Regions from separate parts of the Homo sapiens genome. Here region 2 is linked to region 1. The links are contacts of gene promoters, found by promoter capture Hi-C in blood cells and fetal thymus (Javierre and others, 2016). All regions are on one chromosome and are shown on one strand. The core of a region is centred on a gene start or on the middle of the fragment in contact, and the rest is flanking DNA. Distances in the headings are between cores, read along the strand shown.

Evidence for each region. Contacts are between HindIII fragments. The CHiCAGO score rates a contact against its expected background, and 5 or more counts as called.
Region 2: a contact is called between a fragment that was not itself captured here and the fragment with the promoter of MCM3 in region 1, in 1 of 17 cell types (total B cells). The highest score is 5.7, in total B cells.

The regions. Positions count from the first base shown.
Region 1 is chr6:52,282,862-52,286,484 of GRCh38, reverse strand. MCM3 (minichromosome maintenance complex component 3) reads left to right here and starts at 1,743. Exons shown (of 17, transcript NM_002388.6): 1 at 1,743-1,888; 2 at 3,079-3,191. The coding sequence starts at 1,811. RefSeq lists enhancers at 1,266-1,465, 1,786-1,865. The HindIII fragment of the contact is 4,216 bases long and covers 1,619-3,623 here.
Region 2 is chr6:49,459,329-49,462,951 of GRCh38, reverse strand. It overlaps MMUT (methylmalonyl-CoA mutase), which reads left to right. Exons shown (of 13, transcript NM_000255.4): 2 at 3,447-3,623. The coding sequence starts at 3,486. Among named protein-coding and RNA genes, the nearest start is that of MMUT, 2.1 kb to the left of the region's middle. RefSeq lists enhancers at 1-29, 1-516. The HindIII fragment of the contact is 172 bases long and covers 1,983-2,154 here.

The DNA of each region.
Region 1 (3,623 bases), core at 494-2,993:
CTTATACTGTATATAAGGAAACAAGCCCAGAAAAAAGTGTGAGAATCAAAGATGTGGTTTTCAGATTTCCACTCTTTTGGACTTTCTACTACAAATGACTCGACTTCTTTGCTAGTTTGAACTAAGCTTCCCGGTTCTTTTAGTGTTAATTTCAAATTGTTTCCAGAGCAGAGGATATCTCAGTACTCTGTCCAATAAGTTCATAAAATAAGAGTTATGAGTAAAAAGTCTTAATAAATCAGTAATTACCTCTTGCTATATAACGGCAAACAGTATCTTTATTCTAGAATTTTCTTTTTTTTTTGCCCGTTAATAAACATAAAAGCAAGCAGTCAAATGACAGCCTTTTTGCTTTGGCTAAGGATCGATTTATCTGCCCACTAGGATGGCACAAAACATACAGTAACTATAAACTGAATAATAACTAGAAATACATATACCCACACAAATAGATGGCCTATATATTTTGTTTAGGCAGATTATTCTTAGAATATTTATCAGTACATAGTGAGTCCTGAAGACTTTAAAACATAAGCTAATAGTTGGCTGAAATTTCAGATAAAGAATTATCAAATGTCTGATGTTGGGCAATCCAGTATTTCAGCTTCTTGTTCAGTAAAATTAAAAACACATGCTGGGGCAATGGGCTTGCTCTTTATTGTGCAGAGTGGTTACATGGGTGTAAGCACAGGTAAAAATTCACTGAGCTGTACACTTAAGATTTGTGCATTTTACTGTATATACATTATATCTCAAAATAAAACTAGAAATATAAGAAAAAGCCAACCACGACGGACTGAAAACAAACATACAAATTTGGACGTGCGATGATCTTTTAGTCATTATGGTTTCAGATTTGCTGTTAGTTACTGATTGATATTTAATCAAAGTGACGTGAAACACTTTTTCCCCTCTTGAGCTGATCGTTCAGTAAGCTAAGTTACTTAAAAGGATCTTGTGATCTTTTTATAAGACCAGAAAGCCTTTAATTTACCTGTTATTAAGTAAGATGGAGTAGTAACGGTTTCCAAAATTTGTATAACACACGATGAAGTCTCTAGGGGGCAGGGTAAACACAGATTTTTTTTTTCACTTCATCCTTCTCTGCGGCGATGTCTTTATGGAGTTCGTCAGGCAACGGTATCAGATAGCAAATGGGTTTTTAACTAATCTTTCCCTAAGGTACTGTAGTTCTATATTCTATCCTATAGATTCTCAAAATCCACTTTTACACTAGGATGCCACTGGAGGGCAGTTCTGATTTGGATATATCTTAAAAATGATTTGCTTTTATGTTTTCATCTCCCTGCGTTATAAAGCACCATCCTCTGAATTTGGTCGTTGCATCGGGTCAAAAGTTCTGCAGCTTGAAAAACCCTGCAAAAACATCCGGAAAGGAGGGAGAACACTACAACTCCCAGAACGCAATGCTTTCCCTCTCGCCAGCCTGTCCCCTCCAGCTGCTCAATGACCAGCCTCTGTGAGCCTCCTCTCAGCCCTATTGGTCAGTTTGCTCGTCAGTGAGTGAGGCGGAGGGAGGGGAGGAACAGAGAATCCCGGATGGTACGTTTCCCGCCACCGCGGGGCGCGCAGCGGAAAACCCGAAGAAGAAGAAGCTTTTGATTGGACAGTCGCTAGTCCGACCTCAGAGAACTCAGCCAATCATAATGCTTATATGCTCCCAAGGTCCCCGCCTCTTCCTCGAGGTAACCTTTGGTGGCGGGAAGAGTTCGGAAGTTTTCGCGCCGGGGTGGAGTCATCCTGGGAACCTCCACGCGACTTTGGTGGAGGTAGTTCTTTGGCAGCGGGCATGGCGGGTACCGTGGTGCTGGACGATGTGGAGCTGCGGGAGGCTCAGAGAGATTACCTGGACTTCCTGGACGACGAGGTGAGGGAGGCGCCGGCGCGCGGGCTCTAGCGCTCGGAGCCCCTGCGGACGCGGCCCGGCCGGGAAGCCAGAGGCCCGCCAGACCTCCAGACCGTGTGCCGCAGCGGAGCCTGCCGGGCCCGAGCCTCCAGCCCCAATCTTGTAACTTCTCAACGCCGGACTCGCTAGTTTGTGTTCGATAAGTGAACTCTTAGGAAGCCAGCTTTCTCTTAAGTACAAGCGATGGTCCGGGCGCGCAAAAGGCGACAGGTTCCCATTAAGTGCAAGCAGATTGGCAAAGCCCACCTCGGCCTTTTGCATTTCACTGCTCTCTCTTGATTTGAGGAGACTGTGGGGGAGGGGCTGCCCTAGGGCTATAGTGACCAGCCGCGTTGCAGAGTGCTCAGATTTTAGGGACTGACGTTTTACCTGGAGGAAAAGACTCCATAATTCGGCTGCATTCTTTTTCAATACCAACTAAGATGCAGATAAAAAGTGTTTTGTGTGCAGGCCAAGGGGATTTTATGTGCAACCCAAGACTTAAAGCCATAGAATGTTGAAAAAACCATCTTGAAGGGTTGATGATGTGACCAAATAGCTGAGATTCTCTATTCCTTTAGGTCGGGGTATGAGAACCCTTTCCGTATTATAGAGATGATTGGAAAAAATATTACTTTTTACATAATTCTTAAATGAAAAGCCATTTTAATGTGACTATTAAGAGTCTGTTTTATTTACATTTTTATTGTATATATTTGAAGTGCACATGTTTTGATATACATGGTGAAATGATTACTACAGTGAAACAACATATCCATCTATTCACGTTGTTACCTTTAACATTCACATTGCTAGGTTTAACTTAACATTTTAACAAAGTTTGCACTTACTGTCCATTTAGACTTCTCATGAGCTCATTTTAATTCTCCACTAAAGACAGAAATTACAGCATGCAGAAAAGTTGTCCATGATGATGGGAATAACAGCATGGACCTTGAGGAAGTCATTATAATTCTTATAGTCCCCTCTTAGGGTGTTATTTCGAATCTAAAAACAGTGAATGAAAGGGAGAAATTGATGAGCACATACTTACTGGGGATTCAGCTCTGCTGCAGAGATTGACTTAGCTATCTGGCTATGAGAACTACTTCTGTTTAGAAACATTGTTTTTAAATTTGTGGCTATGGTGATATGTGGTGGCTGTTTTGCAGGAAGACCAGGGAATTTATCAGAGCAAAGTTCGGGAGCTGATCAGTGACAACCAATACCGGCTGATTGTCAATGTGAATGACCTGCGCAGGAAAAACGAGAAGAGGGCTAACCGGTGAGAGGCAAGGGGATATACTGGCTGTCAGTGAGAATGGCTCCCTTCCCTCTTGGCCAGATTGGAACAGCCTCTCAGGAGAGGACTTGTATGAAACAGGATTGATCTACAAGCCCTCGTAGCTCACCTGCACCTATTTTTTTTTTTTTTTTTTTCAAAAAGTGGGTGGTTGGCATTTTCCTCCCAAATGCCCCTCCTTCCAATGTTTAGCTGAATATCATTTTTATATCTTTGATAAGTTGAGGTGAAGTTGGTCCTTAGTTCTGGTATTTTACTGAGTCTTATAGGATGGTGTTTTACTGAGACTTATAGGAGAAAGCAGAAGCTGGATTTTCTCATTGTTTTTAATGATCTAAGAATGTCTGCTGTTTTGAGGATCCATTTTTTTGAGTTCTGCCCAGTCTAATTTTTCTTTCTCTTGCTTATGTACAG
Region 2 (3,623 bases), core at 819-3,318, 2.8 Mb after region 1:
GCCTTCTCCTTAGGTTTAGATTTTCACTTCGACCAACCTCTAGTTTTGGGCGAAGTCCCTGGCAATTCGGAGGTACTTCTGGAAAGAAGGTGCTTTTAATACTTTAGGGGCCATGTCGGTATCTTCTTTGGCCACTTAAGCACCCTGAACTGTTCCCGTTGGCAGAGGTCACTTTTTGTATGGTTCCAAAGGGATGCGCCTGCTTCATGGCTGCCTCCCTTCTAGGTTGTGGGTTATGTTATTGTCAGGGTTTTTCTAAGAGTTTTCGGGAATAAAAGTGATTTTCTGTGTGTAAACAGGATTAAGAGTGTAAACAGTGTTAAGAGTGAGAGGTAGAATAGAAAAGACAGGTCTAAATTGACATAAAAGCTTACATTACTAACTCGTTCTCAGTTTTATCTAGAAAGAAGGTGGTCTTAGGGAAGCTCGAAGCCCTGGATAACGTATGTGTGTAAAGTTTTAAACCACTTGATGATTTTCTGCCAATATAATTTTGTGTTTAATGATGTACTTATGCTAATATCAAATATAATTTTCATGCCCTATGTTTCCATCTCCAAACCCAACTAGTTGAACATCAAAGTACCTTCTTGAAGTATTAATGTGCAATCATACGTCAGCAGCCAAAGCTTGAAACTTATTGGTTCAAGAAATCTTTTTCTCACTGATTTGTTTTTGAGGTGTGGGGGTGGGATTAATCATTGCTCTTTAACTCATTTTAGTTGTCAGTAACATATTTGCTTTGCATGTTGCTTCTTTGAATGCTTGAGGCCTCTCTTGATGGTCTTCTGAGAAAATTCAGAGGTCGTATTGCCATCCGCAGTAGTTGTGTTTTTATCTAAAAATGGTGTCTGTTTCCAGCCTCCACCAATTCACATGTGATTTTCAGGAAGTCACTTAAACGGGGCTCTTTCCTATTAGTTGTTCAGATTTAGGAAAGCCCACGTGAAATGAGTGTGATATTTCCTGCCAACAGTTTAGTCTCAGGTGGTTTTCAAATTACCTTTTACAGGATTACTATTGAAACAGTTTAGTTGTTGCTTCATTATTTTTTTCATCCACCTTTTAAGCTAGTAAATGTAGTGGATGGCTTGCAAAAAGATGGATGACAAGGACCCCATGGATTTAAAGAATAAAAATCGTGCTAGTATTAAAAAAATGGAAGGTTTTTTTGTTTTGTTTTGAGACGGGGTCTCTCTCTGTTGCCCAGGTTGGAGTGCAGTGGCACGATCTCTGCTCACTGCAACCTCTGCTTCCCGGGTTGAAGTGATTCTCATGCCTCAGCCTCCTGAGTACCTGGGATTACTGGTGTGCGCCACCATGCCCAGCTAATTTTTGTATTTTTAGTAGAGACTGGGTTTCACCGTGTTGGCCAGGCTGGTCTTGAACCCCTGACCTCAGGTGATCCACCTGCCTCGGCCTCCTGAAGTGCTGGGATTCCAGGCGTGAACCACCATGCCCAGCCTTTTTTGTTATGTTTCCATTTAGACTTTGTTCTATGTACTTTTTACATAGTTGAACCTGTTGCACTTACAATTACGTGTCTTGAGTCTTTTACTTACTACTTTTTGAGTTTGTTTCTCTTTTTTTGGGAAACTATGCATAACACATTTTTAACTTTTTACTTATACATATATTTACAGAAACTGCATAAAACATAACTGTATAATTTGATGAATTTCCACAAACAGAATATATCTATGTAAGTGGCAATCAGATCAAGACCATTACCCCCAAAAGCCCCTCTCTTGCTCCTGTTGTATTCTAGCAACCATTAAGTAACCATTCTTCTGACTTCTGACATCAAAGATTAGTTTTGCCAGCTTTCTAAACATATTTTGATAACTACATGAAATTCTATCATTTGTATATGCTGTAATTCACTTATTCATATGTTATGAGATACTTACGATTTTCCTAAGTTTTCTCTATTACAAATAAAACTATAGGAAACATCTATTTTATATATTACTACAGAAGCTTTCCCAGGAGTAATGTTCCTCAGTGGAATGGCATAAACATTTCTGAAGCATTTCATGTATATTGACAATTTACTTTCCAAAGTAGTTAAAATAGTTAATACTGTCACCAGTGGTTTATGTCTCTTGTTTAACGACCCCATAATAAGTGTTGAGTATTGATTTCATTTAAGCTTTACTAAACTGATAGGTAAGAAGTGGTATGGAAAATAAAATTTGAAACTCCCTTTACTTGTTGCCTTATCCAGTATAAAACACATAGTATAGTGAATATATTAATGTTTGCATCTCAATATCTTTTTAAACAATGGGCTCTATATGTTTACGCTGTATGACTCTGACAAGTTTTAGTAATTCAGGTAAACAGTTTACGGCTTTGTGAGGTGGGATTTTGATCAAGCGACTTTATTTCTCTGAGCCTCAGTTTCTACATCTGGAAAATGATGACGCTGAACCCAGCAACCTAGTATAAAAGTCTATGCTAGTTATCCGGAATATGCAGCTCTAATGTTGGAGCAGTTTATAAACTAGCACAGAAGTAGATTATTGAAGAGGCCATTTAGCTCACCTTATGGGTTCTGGGATGAATTGTGTGCATATTAGTTAAATGCAAGGACTTTGAAACAGGCTGCATAGGTTCCAATCAATGCTGGCTCTTCTGTGCCTCAGTTTCCTAATCTGTAAAATAAGGATAATAATAGTACCTACCTCTTAGGGGTATTGTAAAGATTAAAATTGCTACTCTCTGTGATGTCTTTATAGCCTTCTATGTTACTGGCACATAGAAACGCTGCAAATTGGAGATAATGCCTTAGCTGAATTAGCCAGAGAAGAACATTTTAGGCAGAAGGAAGAGCAAGAGCAAATTCAGAAAACTTTGACATATGTGCAGCCAACTGTAGGTAATCCAGTATTTCTAGTGCACAAAATGCATAAAGAGGACAAAGACAGAGATGGGTCTGAGGGGGAAACAGAGACCAGTTCATGAAGGCCTTGAATGCCTGTTTGTCTTATTCATCACTTTTTTCTCTATTACCCAACATAATGTCGGTCATAAACTGATATTTAATAAAAGCACTTTGAATGAAAAAATTAATTAGGAGGCTGTAGTATATCTTCCACATGATACAGAGTCTTTGAAAAATTCCATGAGGAGTGTGACATAGTCATATTTACATTGATGTCATTGTATGGAAGGGATTCGTATAGAATGGAGTAGAAAAGGAGTAAGACTGGTCAGTAAGACCAGCTAAGAGGCTACTGAGGAAAAAGACTGAAACTACAGGACTGATAGTAATTGTGAAGAAGAGGGGCCAAAGTTATAAAATATCAGGTGCAGGAAGCAGAAAAGGGGAAGAAATGAAATCAGACTAATACATCCTCTTTCTTTTCTGTTCCTTTCTTATGAGTAGCTCCTATTTCCCACCCCCTCTTCTAAATGTTTTTACTCTATGTTTCTTTTTCTAGGTCAGTTCTTATTTCTATTGGGTGTTTCCATGCTCCACCATGTTAAGAGCTAAGAATCAGCTTTTTTTACTTTCACCTCATTACCTGAGGCAGGTAAAAGAATCATCAGGCTCCAGGCTCATACAGCAACGACTTCTACACCAGCAACAGCCCCTTCACCCAGAATGGGCTGCCCTG